2 separate regions of the Homo sapiens genome follow, and region 2 is linked to region 1. Evidence: promoter capture Hi-C in 16 types of primary human blood cells and fetal thymus (Javierre and others, 2016). All regions are on one chromosome and are shown on one strand. Each heading gives the region's core, a stretch centred on a gene start or on the middle of the fragment in contact. The rest is flanking DNA. Distances are from core to core; before and after follow the strand shown. Region 1 holds the start of CEP131 (centrosomal protein 131). Region 2 holds the start of RPTOR (regulatory associated protein of MTOR complex 1).

What was found. Contacts are between HindIII fragments. The CHiCAGO score rates a contact against its expected background, and 5 or more counts as called.
Region 2: a contact is called between the fragment with the promoter of RPTOR here and the fragment with the promoter of CEP131 in region 1, in 1 of 17 cell types (erythroblasts). The highest score is 5.4, in erythroblasts.

What each region holds. Positions count from the first base shown.
Region 1 is chr17:81,218,672-81,224,650 of GRCh38, forward strand. It overlaps CEP131 (centrosomal protein 131), which reads right to left and starts at 4,294. Exons shown (of 26, transcript NM_014984.4): 1 at 4,098-4,294; 2 at 1,209-1,402. The coding sequence starts at 1,385. RefSeq lists enhancers at 2,655-3,325, 3,326-3,995, 3,996-4,665 and silencers at 4,027-4,356, 4,517-4,886. The HindIII fragment of the contact is 19,797 bases long and covers 1-5,979 here.
Region 2 is chr17:80,542,311-80,547,522 of GRCh38, forward strand. RPTOR (regulatory associated protein of MTOR complex 1) reads left to right here and starts at 2,528. Exons shown (of 34, transcript NM_020761.3): 1 at 2,528-3,481. The coding sequence starts at 3,320. It also overlaps the pseudogene RPL32P31. RefSeq lists enhancers at 2,222-3,048, 2,382-2,741, 3,022-3,121, 3,049-3,875. The HindIII fragment of the contact is 2,750 bases long and covers 2,215-4,964 here.

The DNA of each region.
Region 1 (5,979 bases), core at 3,044-5,543:
GTCCAAGGGTCCGCTACTGGCCCGGCTGCCCTTACCCCGGAACTCGGCTAGCCGTCTGGCGGGCCACACCCTGCCCACCTGGGGGTGCTTCTAGGGCAGACACAGGAATAACTTTTTCAAGGAGAAGGGGGAGGTCCAAGCCTTTTATTCACAGTGGAACCCTGGCCTGGGCCTGCCAGGGGTTCCTGTGGGAAGCCTCAACTGCCCTCCAGACCCCTTCTCTCTGCCCTGCTATGTTGCCTGGCACGGACCTCAGGCAGGGAGCCCCAGACCGGCTGCCGCATGGAAGCCAAGGCCCCCAGGCCCTTGCTATTCGGAAGCTCAGGCCAGACTCTGGTCAGGCTCTGCCCCAACCCCCACAGAGCGGCTCGATTCCTCCCTTGCCCCAAAGACTGGGCCTGGCAGACACCAACTCAGGGTGCAGCAGGCCCGGCCTGCCTTTCACAGCCCCCATCTGGGAACCACCCACCCTCCTCCCTACTCCCAGAGGTGGGCAGGAAAGGCAGCTCTCACCCCGAAGCTCCCACGGCTGTCCTGCTGCCCACACACCCACACACCCGTCTAGGTTTCTCCAAGGCCACCAGGAGCTCATCACCCCTCCCCACAGGTCAACCCCATTTCTTTCTTTTTTTTTTTTTTTTGAGATGGCATCTCACTCTGTCGCCAGGCTGGAGTGCAACGGCACGATCTCGGCTCACCGCAACCTCTGCCTCCTGGGTTCGAGCAAATCTCCTGCCTCAGCCTCCCGAGTAGCTAGGATTACAGGCATGCACCACCATGCCCGGCTAATTTTTTTTTGTATCTTTAGTAGAGACGGAGTTTCACCATGTTGGTCAGGCTGGTCTTGAACTGCTGACCTCAGATGACCCGCCTGCCTCGGCCTCCCAAAGTGCTGAGATTACAGGCGTGAGCCACCGAGCCCAGCCAACCCCATTTCCTGAGGATTCAAACAAATCCAAAGGGCGGTGGCACAGGAGGCCTGGGGCTGTTGCTGAAAGAATCCAAGCTCTGGCTTGACTTTCTAGTGATTCAGCACCCACGCCTGTAAGACTCAAGTCCTACCTGCCTCCTGGAACAGCCACGAGGATCCAGCATGTCCAGATGTGAGGCACTTGTTCACCTGTGGAGCTGGACCCAGGGGTCAGATGCCAACTGAACAACAGCCCTCCAGGAGGCAGGGGCCCGGACTCCTAGGCCACAGTACTCACCAGCACCTTCCTCTTCTGCTCGCTGCCTGTGACCACGGAGACAGAGCGGACGATGGGCTTGGTGGTGGCGGCACTGCCAGGACGCCGGGACACAGGCGGAGGGAGACCTGTCAGACTCAGGTCCACACCTGCTGGGCTGCGCTCCGGGACGCTGCCGATGGCCCGGGTGCCTTTCATGGTGGACAAGGCAGGTCCTGAGCGGGGAAGCAAGAGCTGCAATGAGATGCCGTGGGGGAACTACAGTCCCCTGCACCCACCATCTCCAGCCCAGCCTCAGCTGGGTCCACTGGCCACCAAACTTCCTGGGAAGGCCTGTCACAACCTATGCACCCCTCTGGCTGGTGGCAGGCTCCTCGACAGGAACATGAGGGAGCTGTTCTGAGCCCAATGTCAGTGTATGCCAGGGCAGGAGGGCCCTGGATGATGGACAGGTGGGTGGCGAGGGCAAGGCCCGTGGGTGGGAATAAGCCAGCAGCACCCCAGAGGGAGCCTGGGCCACAGGCCATTGTCGATGTGAGCCAGGTTCTGCCATCTACCCCACACCGTGATTCTGAGAAAGTCACTGCCCCGAGCCCCACTGTTTTCTTCTGTAAAAGGGACATTTGATTTATTTTTTATTTTATTATGTTTTTGAAACAGAGTCTCGTTCTTGTCACCCAGGCTGGAGTGCAGTGGCGCGATCTCGGCTCATTGCCACCTCTGCCTCCCGGGTTCAAGCGATTCTCCTGCCTCAGCCTCCTGAGTAGCTGGGATTACAGGTGCCCGCCACCACGCCTGGCTAATTTTTGTATTTTTAGTAGAAGTAGAAACGGGGTTTTGCCATGTTGGCCAGGCTGGTCTCGAACTCCTGACCTCAGGTGATTCGCCTGCCTCGGCCTCCCAAAGTGCTGGGATTACAGGCATGAGCCACCGTACCCGGCCCCTAAGTAAAAATACACATTTTAAAAAGGGGTTGCGTGTTGGCCGGGCACAGTGGCTCACTCCTGTAATCCCAGCACTTTGGGAGACCAAGGCAGGCAGATTGCCTGAGCTCAGGAGTTCAAGACCAGCCTAAGCAACACAGTGAAACCCCACCTCTACTAAAAACTTCAAAAAATTAGCCGGGCGTGGTGGCGAGCGCCTGTAATCCCAACTACTTGGGAGGCTGAAGCAGGGGAATTACTTGAACCTGGTAGGCGGAGTTTACAGTGAGCCAAGATCGTGACACTGCACTCCAGCCTGGGCAACATAGCGAGACTCCATCTCAAAAAAAAAAAAAAAAAAAAAACGCGGGAGTGGTTTTGTGAGGTCCAGACAAGATGCTGGTCTCAAGGCCTCAAGGCTGCACCGGGCAAACACTCCCTGGGTAATGTGTTATTCCAGCAGGGGACGGGGGTTCTGACGATCGATCGAGGGGATTAGCTTGGGGATGCTGGCTTCCTTACTTTGGAACTTCTCAGAGCAAACCCTGCCGGCCCCCAGCCCGTCCCCACATGGCACCTCTTTCTGAACGAGTCTTTCTGATCTTTCTGAACGGGTCTCAGCTCGTGCATGTGCCCCTGCCAAAAACCCTGCAACAGCTTCCTAGGCACAGAGAATAAAGTCTACACATCCAACTCCTGCAAGATCTGGCCCTGTACTCTCTGTGACCTCGCCAGCTCCCCTGCTGTGCCCCTTTGTTGTGGCTTTAGCCAACACAGCCTCCCTGGTTCTCCTCAAACTCAGCCAGCTTGGCCCCGGCCAGTCCCCTGCCTCTAGGTCTCAGGACACTCCCTCCCTGCACTCAGAGGCCTTCCTTGAGCACCCATCACTCTTCACTCCCCATCCGGCTCGGACTCCCTTCCTGTGGCCGCACACAGTTGGTTTATGAATTGTGTGGCTCCTGAGCAACCCCAGCACCTGCAGGGAAAGGCACTCAGCTGAACCCGTAGATGAACGGGAGAAGCTGGCGCCAGGGACCAACCTCGAGAATTACCTCCCTGCCACGGTGGCCTCCAGTAGGCCAGCAGGCACCCAGCCTATCGCCCAAGGTCACCCTGGGCTTCCTTCAGCCCGGCACCCCACAGCAGGTCCCCCAAGGTCCCTTCCACGGAGCGATGGATACCCCTACTCCCTAGAGGCTGACCCTGCCACTGACCAGGTCCCAGTCCTCAGTTATGCACTTCCGGCTGTGCGGAAGAAACTTAACACCCTCCTCCTGCAGGGCACTGTCCACCCCTGGCTGGACCCATGCAAGCCCTTGGAGCCCAGGACTCTGCTCTCCCAGCCACACTTGCAAGCGGCTCTGGGATGGCGAACGGGGCCTCTCCATGGAAACCTCCAAGCCAGAAGAAGGGAGGCCTGGGAGGCCACTACATCTTGGATAAAACTGTGTCCCTCCCAGGACCTGAAGGGGCGGGGACTGATGACCAGCGCCAGGACCTGGTTCCCAGGGTGGGCTGACCCTGACCCTGACCCTGACCCTGGACAGAGAGGCCAGAGCCCACGCGCAGAGCAGAGCCCTCCACTTGTCCTCAGGGCAGCTCCCATCTCCCCATTTTCCCCAGGGCTTAAGGCAGCCGGGCCAGAGATGCCGGGACTGGACTCCATGTTGTCCTGGGGACCGGAGGGGAGTGGAGGGAGGTGGAGAGGGTGGAGGGGATGGAGGTGGGGACCCACACCCTCAGGCACGAGCCTGTCTTCACCTGCGCGGGCCCCGGACCTCCCTCACCTGTGCGCACCCTGGATCCCCCTCACTTCCCCCGGATCCCGCCTTCAATTGCGCGGGCACCAGATCCCCCCACTCACCTGTGCGTGCCCCGGATCCCCATCACTTCATCACTGGACCAGGGCCTCCCACCTGCGCGGGCTCCGGACCCCTCCAACCTCCGTGCGCCCTGCAACCCCCTCCCTTGCCCGGGCCCCCCTCACCTGCGCGGGCCGGGGGCGCAGCCGCGAAGCCTGCCTGGCGCGCGGGGCCTGCAGATTCGGCCGGCGGGGAGGGGATGCGGAACCAGTCGCGCCCAAACCTCGGGTCGGCGACCTGGCGCCCCGCCACCCCCAACACTGCCCCGAGGCCCGGTGACAATGAAGCGGCCGGACGGCCGGGGTGAGCAGCGGCGGCAGCTAGCAACCAGCCTGGCACCACCTCCCCAGCCCGTCACGCCGGCCCGCCTTTCCTGCGCGCGCCGACTCCGGATTGGCCCTTCACGCTCCCGCTCAGGCCGTCCCGGGAGCTCATTGGGCCGCTCGGCTGTCCTTCGGGAAGTTCAAGCGTGGGAGGAGCGGCGGATGGCTGAGGGACGCGACTACAGAGAGCGGCCGATTGGACGCGGCTGGAAAGGGGCGGGTCATATAGGGGGCGGGGGACCGAGGGCGGCGGGAGGAGCTGGCCGGGCAGGGGCGGGGCCCCAGCGGTTGTGGGCGGGGCGTGAGGTGGGGGTGTGATGGGCGAGTAGGGCGAGGCAGATGTGGGCGGGGCAAGGCAGGTGTGGGCGGGGCACGCAGGGCCTGGGGAGGAGACACCAGGGAGGGCGCGAGGAGCACGCGGCCTCGGCTCGGCTCCCCGACACCCCCAGGCCGCCGCACTCCCGCGGCCCGGGGCTCCCCCAGTGTCCTAGGCCGCTCTGTCCCCACCCACGTGCGCGACTCCCCTCGTTACTCAGTACGACTGCGAGGGCGTGTGGGCGCCTTGCTAACCTCCCTGACCTCCTTCCCTTCGCGCTGCTTTGTTGTTTTTTTTCCTTCTCCAAAGTTTTAACGCTGCGCCCCGTGCGTAGCCGCTCTGTGACTCCCCCTCTCTCCGGGAGCCCTGGGGATTCCGCCCAGGTCCTCTCCAGGGAAGCCATCCTTCCCCTAAAAGTCACAGCACACTGGTCTCCCCTGCCCCCGCTTTTTAAAAAGTCCAGTGCTCTGTAAAATAAAAAGTTTGGTTTCAGTAAAATCCACATTTTTTGGTGTGCAGTGGAGTTGTGTAACTTTAGTTACAGAACATTCTCCCTCCGGATCCCGTACCTGCTGACTGCTGGTGGCGGCTGCTCAGTTCTCTCTGTTCTCCATCCCTAGAGGCAGCCTTTTCCAGAATGTCACACAAAAGGGATGTCGCGCAGCGCGCCTGTGGGTCTGGCTTCTACCACTTCGCATTTTGAGATTCATGCTGGTTCCTCTTTATTGCTGAGTGGTATCCTGTAACCGGTGTGAACCACCGGTTCAGATGGTTTTATTTATTGATGGTTTTATTCATCAAATGAAGGACGCAGAGATTGTTCCTGGTGCTTGGCAATTATGAATGACGCTGCCATAAACATTCACTCATCGGCTTCTGTGTGGACACAACTTTTCATTTCTCTTGTGTAAATACCCAGGAGTGGGGTTGCTGGATCAAATGATTGTTTATAAGAAACTGCCGGCCGGGCGCAGTGGGTCCCACCTGTAATTCCAGAACTTTGGGACACTGAGGTGGGCGGATCACCTGAGGTCAGGAGTTCGAGATCACCCTGGCCAACATGGCAAAACCCCGTCTCTAGTAAAAATACAAAAAAATTACCCGTGCCTGGTGGCGTCTGCCTATAATCCCAGCTACTCAGGAGGCTGAGTCAGGAGAATCGCTTGACCCCAGGAGGCAGAGATTGCGGTGAGCGGAGATCACCACTGCACTCCAGCCTGAGCGACAGAGCAAGACTCCATCTCAAAAAAAAGAAAAAGAAAAAAAAAAGGAAACCGCCAAGCTATTTTCTTTTTCTTTTTTTTCCTTTTTTTTCCGAGATGGAGTCTCCCTCTGTCGCCCAGGCTGGAGTGCAATGGCATGATCTTG
Region 2 (5,212 bases), core at 1,278-3,777, 680 kb before region 1:
AAACCCAGAGGTATTGACAACAGGGTTGGTAGAAGGTTCAAGGGCCAGATCTTGATGCCCAACATTGGTTATGGGAGCAACAAAAAAACAAAGCACACGCTGCCCACTGGCTTCTGGAAGTTCAGTCTACAACGTCAAGGAGCTGGAAGTGCTGCTGATGTACAACACTTCTTACTGCGCTGAGATCGCTCACAGTGTTTCCTCCAGGAACCGCGAAGCCACCACAGAAAGAGCCGCCCAGCTGGCCATCAGAGTCACTGACCCCCATGCCAGTCTGCGCAGTGAAGAAAACGAGCAGACAGCTCATGTGCATGTTTTGTGTTTAAATAAAACTGTAAAAACTGCAAAAAAAAAAAAATGCAGATTCTGAATCCCGGTCTCCCTGCTCCCCGATCTGGGGCTCTGGGTTGGAAGCTGGGCATCCTGAATTTTAGTTTCCTGGGCGATTCTGACCACCTGGTGGGTTTGGACTTCAACGTGCTCACTGACACCTTCGTTTAGAATTTCAGATACGAAAAATGGATTTCCCAAGGTCACACACGTTATAGGTGAGGAAACTGAGTCTCACACAGATTCAGTGGGCTTTCCCAGGTCACAGAGCTAGTTAGGGATGAATGGGTTTAGCGTTGCTGCTTTTCTGTAACTGTGACTTCCTGCAAGAGCTGCTGGAATGCAGCTGTCTACAGCCACCGGAGGTGGGGAGCAAGGTGACAAGGCAGAGGACAGGAGTGATTTTGTTGCCTTCAGATGAGAACGGGGTCTTCCTAAGACCCTGCATCCCTGAAGCCTCTGCTGGTAACTGTGAGGATAGTCTCTGCCAACAGAGAGGGTGCCCTGAGTTTCAATAGGAGAATTGGCTCCATGGGGTGTAATAACCAAACGAATGTGCGGAATGACAATGATTTAATCCTGTAGCCTTTATTAAAGGCTTGCTTTGTGCTGGGTGAGAAAGGTCTGGGATTGTATTCTTCATTCTCATTTTGAAAGGAACACAAATGCCATCAAGATTTTGATATGGATGGCCACATGTGTCTAAGCCCCGGAAAACCATCCTGAGAGATCAAGACCATCTTGGCCAGGATGGTCTTGAACTCCTGACCTCATGATCCACCCACCTCAGCCTCCCAAAGTGCTGGGATTACAGGCGTGCACCACCACGCCTGGCCTCGTTTTATTCTTATTTATTTATTTATTTATTTATTTATTTTTGAGATGGAATCTCACTCTGTCACCCAGGCTGGAATGCAGTGGTGTAATCTCGGCTCACTGCAACCTCTGCCTCCCAGGTTCCAGCTCTTCTCCTGCCTCAGCCTCCCGAGCAGCTGAGACTACAGACGCACGCCACCACGCCCAGCTAATTTTTGTATTTTTATTAGAGACGGCGTTTCACCATGTTGGCCAGGCTGGTCTCGAACTCCTGAACTCGTGATCCACCCTCCTCGGCTTCCCAAAGGGCTAGGATTATAGGCGTGAGCCACGGTGCCCTGCCTACATTTGGTTTTATAGTCCACCTTACACAGTTCTCTATACATTGTAAATGAGCCAAATTTCCTGAATTGAAAAAGAGAGTCACACAAGAGGCTTGCCTCCACGCACAGACATGTAGTTTTAGATGTCTGCACGTGAAGCTATATCAAAATAAGAATAAACTACTGCTACCAAGAAGTGGGAAAAAAATTTAAAAAGGATAAACTGCTCAGAAAACGAAACAGATTAAACAAAAAATTGTATTAGATGAAATTTTTTTTCATCGAATCTTGCTCCAGACTCTTCTTCTGTTGCTTCAGACCCTTCTTCATCTGAAGAGTCTTGCTCTGTCTCCCAGGCTGGAGTGCAGTGGCACGATCTTGGCCCACTGCAACCTCCGCCTCCCGGGTTCAAGCAATTCTCCTGCCTCAGCCTCCTGAGTAGCTGGGATTACAGGCGCGCACCACCACGCCCAGCTAATTTGTGTATTTTTAGTAGGGACGGGGTTTCACCATGTTGGCCAGGCTGGTCTCGATCTCTTGACCTCGTGATCTGCCCGCTTCGGCCTCCCAAAGTGCTGGGATTACAGGCGTGAGCCACGGCGCCCGGCCTTTCACTTGGTTCTCTATGAAAAAATTAAAGAGAAAATCTGATTGACACTGTGGAGGACACTACACTCCAAAAAAAAAAGTACTATATTTTCTAATATTATCAGTGCTTTTTAATATTTTCTAATATTATCAGTGAAGCTTTTGCCGCTTTTTCAAAATCTGGAAGAAACAAGGCGGTTGATTCCTTTAATTTCAGGAGCATGTAACTTCATTTATAATGACAATGTTTTTGAAAAAATAAATTAAACCGACAGTTTCATTTGTAGGATTGACTTTAATAACACGCCTCTACTGAACAAATGGCGATTAACTGGGGAAAACGGAATTATGGTAACCGAGGTAACGGGGTCGGGGACTCTTTCTCCTTCGCTGCATGCTGGGTGGCGGGGAGAGACCGCTCTGAGGAGGTTTGGTCTGTCGGCCACGCCGTAGGCCGCGGTGCATTCTGGGTCCTGGCAATATGGCGTCCTCCTTGATGGGCTGATGAGATGAGTTTCACTGTAGCTCCAAACCAGAGGGCAAAGCTCCCATGACCCAATAAGCCCACATTGTCCCTTTCCTCCGTGGTTCCGTGTCGCCCGTTTCTCAGGACTCGTTCTCAGGCAGGAGAGAGCCTCGGGGCTGAAGGCCAGGACCAGCCAGGCCGCGCGGACCTGAGGTTGAGGAACCGGGTGCAGGCGAGCACGATGGGCCGGTCGTGGCTCTGGTTGCAGCAGCTCAGACGAGTGCGGGACCCGCAGGGCTGAGAGTGGCTGGAGGAGACCCAGGGCCCTTTGAACCCGATCCCTTGGCCGGAGACCTCAGCCCAGTCGGCCCAGTGGGCGAACCGGCACCAAGAGCGGCCTGCCTGTCTTCGGAACTGCTGAGGCGGTGGAGGCCGAGAGCAGGGTCATCGTGAGGCCTGAAGTCTCTTACGCTTTTGGCAGCTCCCCTCGCAGCCCCTCTGGAAACGTACAGCCTCAGGAGCAGCCAGTGGCTTGGGACCTGGGGTGGTGTGTGTCTGCGGAGCTTCTTGGGCTGCCCCATTTCCTAGCGGCCCCCACCTCCCCACTTCCCGCTCAGAGTTAGAGATAAGGATCTCAGACTTTTGCCTGAGTAAGGGTCTCCGCACTCTTTATCCATTTGGTTTTCGATTTCCCGTTTTTGTTTCTTATTTCACCAATTCTGGTACACGCTAGTTTTTAAGGCTGGAGGTTCTCGAGCGCTTGCTGCCAAGGACTCCCCCACCCCCTCCCCCACTGATGGAGTCCGAAATGCTGCAATCGCCTCTTCTGGGCCTGGGGGAGGAAGATGAGGCTGATCTTACAGACTGGAACCTACCTTTGGCTTTTATGAAAAAGAGGCACTGTGAGAAAATTGAAGGCTCCAAATCCTTAGCTCAGAGCTGGAGGATGAAGGATCGGGTAAGTGGATTCTGAAGGCACCCCTTGAACTTGGTAGTTTCCCCAACAAAGAAAGTTTACAGCCCGAAAAGTGTCCTTGGGAAAGCGCCGACATTTCCCCCTAGCCACACGTTGTAAGTCAACTAGAAAGCAAAAGCCATTTCAGACTGCAGTTTTTGGTTGAAAATGGAAAATGCTGTTTTGGTTAGTCATTATTCACTGGGTAGTGTTAATTCAATTCCAACTAAGTTCTAATTCAGATAATAAAAGTTAAGCAAATTTGAAAATAGAGCATTGCGAGTATTTACATGCTCTTTGGCATACTACTTAGTTCTGTAAACACTTAGAGGAAGGACAACGTGCGATATAATCTTTATACCCACATGATTAGTCTACTTTTTAAAATATCCAAGCTGGGTGAAGTGCAGAAGTCTGATATACTATGCTAGGAAATGAGATTACTGGAAAATGTTCAACTAGTAACAAATTAGTGCAAAGTTATTATAAAGTTACACTGAACTTCATTCTAGTCTTCTAAACAATTTCTCTTGAAGCTAGATTTTCCTCCTTTTATGTAGTGTCCTGTTGCTGTAACTTGGAAACAGGATTTCTTTAATCGTGAGTTAGGGTATGAGGCGTCGAGACTTGGGTGCAGGTTTTAGGGTGTCCGCATGGTGTTTGGAGTGTGGAGAGTGACTCACAAGCAGCTGGTAGGAAAGAAAACAGCCGAATTTTGTTGGATTTGTCCTTCATAAAACACCCATCTATTTCCTGGCCTCAAAAGCAAAAGGGTAGTACTGCTTCTCCTCTATGCACACTTATAATTTGTCTTTTTGTAAGTTATTTTCTCCCTCCAGGCTGCTTTTATTTGCACATTTCAGTGGTATAAAAGAGGAAGTTGGTGTTACAATGTTTGATTTTCTCTAGGCTTATGTATATGTTTATGGAATATTATTGTTTTTTAGTATATGATGTTGAACATATATAAGATTACACTTCTGGGCTGGGCGCGGTGGCTCACGCCTGTAATCTCAGCACTTTGGGAGGCCAAGGCAGGCCTCCCAAAGGCAGGCGGATCACCTGAGGTCAGGAGTTTGAGACCAGCCCGGCCAACATGGTGAAACCCTGTCTGTACTAAAAATACAAAAATTAGCTGGGCTTGGTGGCAGGTGCCCGTAATCCCAGCTACTCGAGAAGCTGAGGCTGGAGAATCGCTTGAACCTGGGAGGCAGAGGTTGCAGTGAGCCGAAATCGCACCATTGCACTCCAGCCTAGGGGACAGAGTGAGACTGTGTCTCAAAAATAAATAAATAAATAAAACTTCTGGTAACTCTAGTCAGTCAGTCAGTAGTAACCAGTTAGCTACTGACTTGGCTTACTTCTAAAAGGTTAGGAAAATTTGTTTCATCCAAAAGCATTTTAAGGAGTTAAATAAGTTAGTCATTGGGGGAGGTTGTATAAATTCTATCTTATGGACATCTTTAGTAGTAACTATATAGTTAAAAGCTTTTGTGGTTGCTATACATATATGAAAAGACTTTTTAAAAAATTCTTTGTGGAGGGCAGTTTTTTTGTTGTTGTTATTTTGAAATGTGGTTCTCTCTGCTGTCCTAAACCTATGTTCCAACAGTTTGAAACTGATTAATGGGTATACGTTTGACCTTTTAATTAAAACATTAATTTGTGAATGATCAACATTCCCTAATAAGCTTTTCACAGGTTGTTAAGAGAAACAAAAGTTCTGTGACTCTT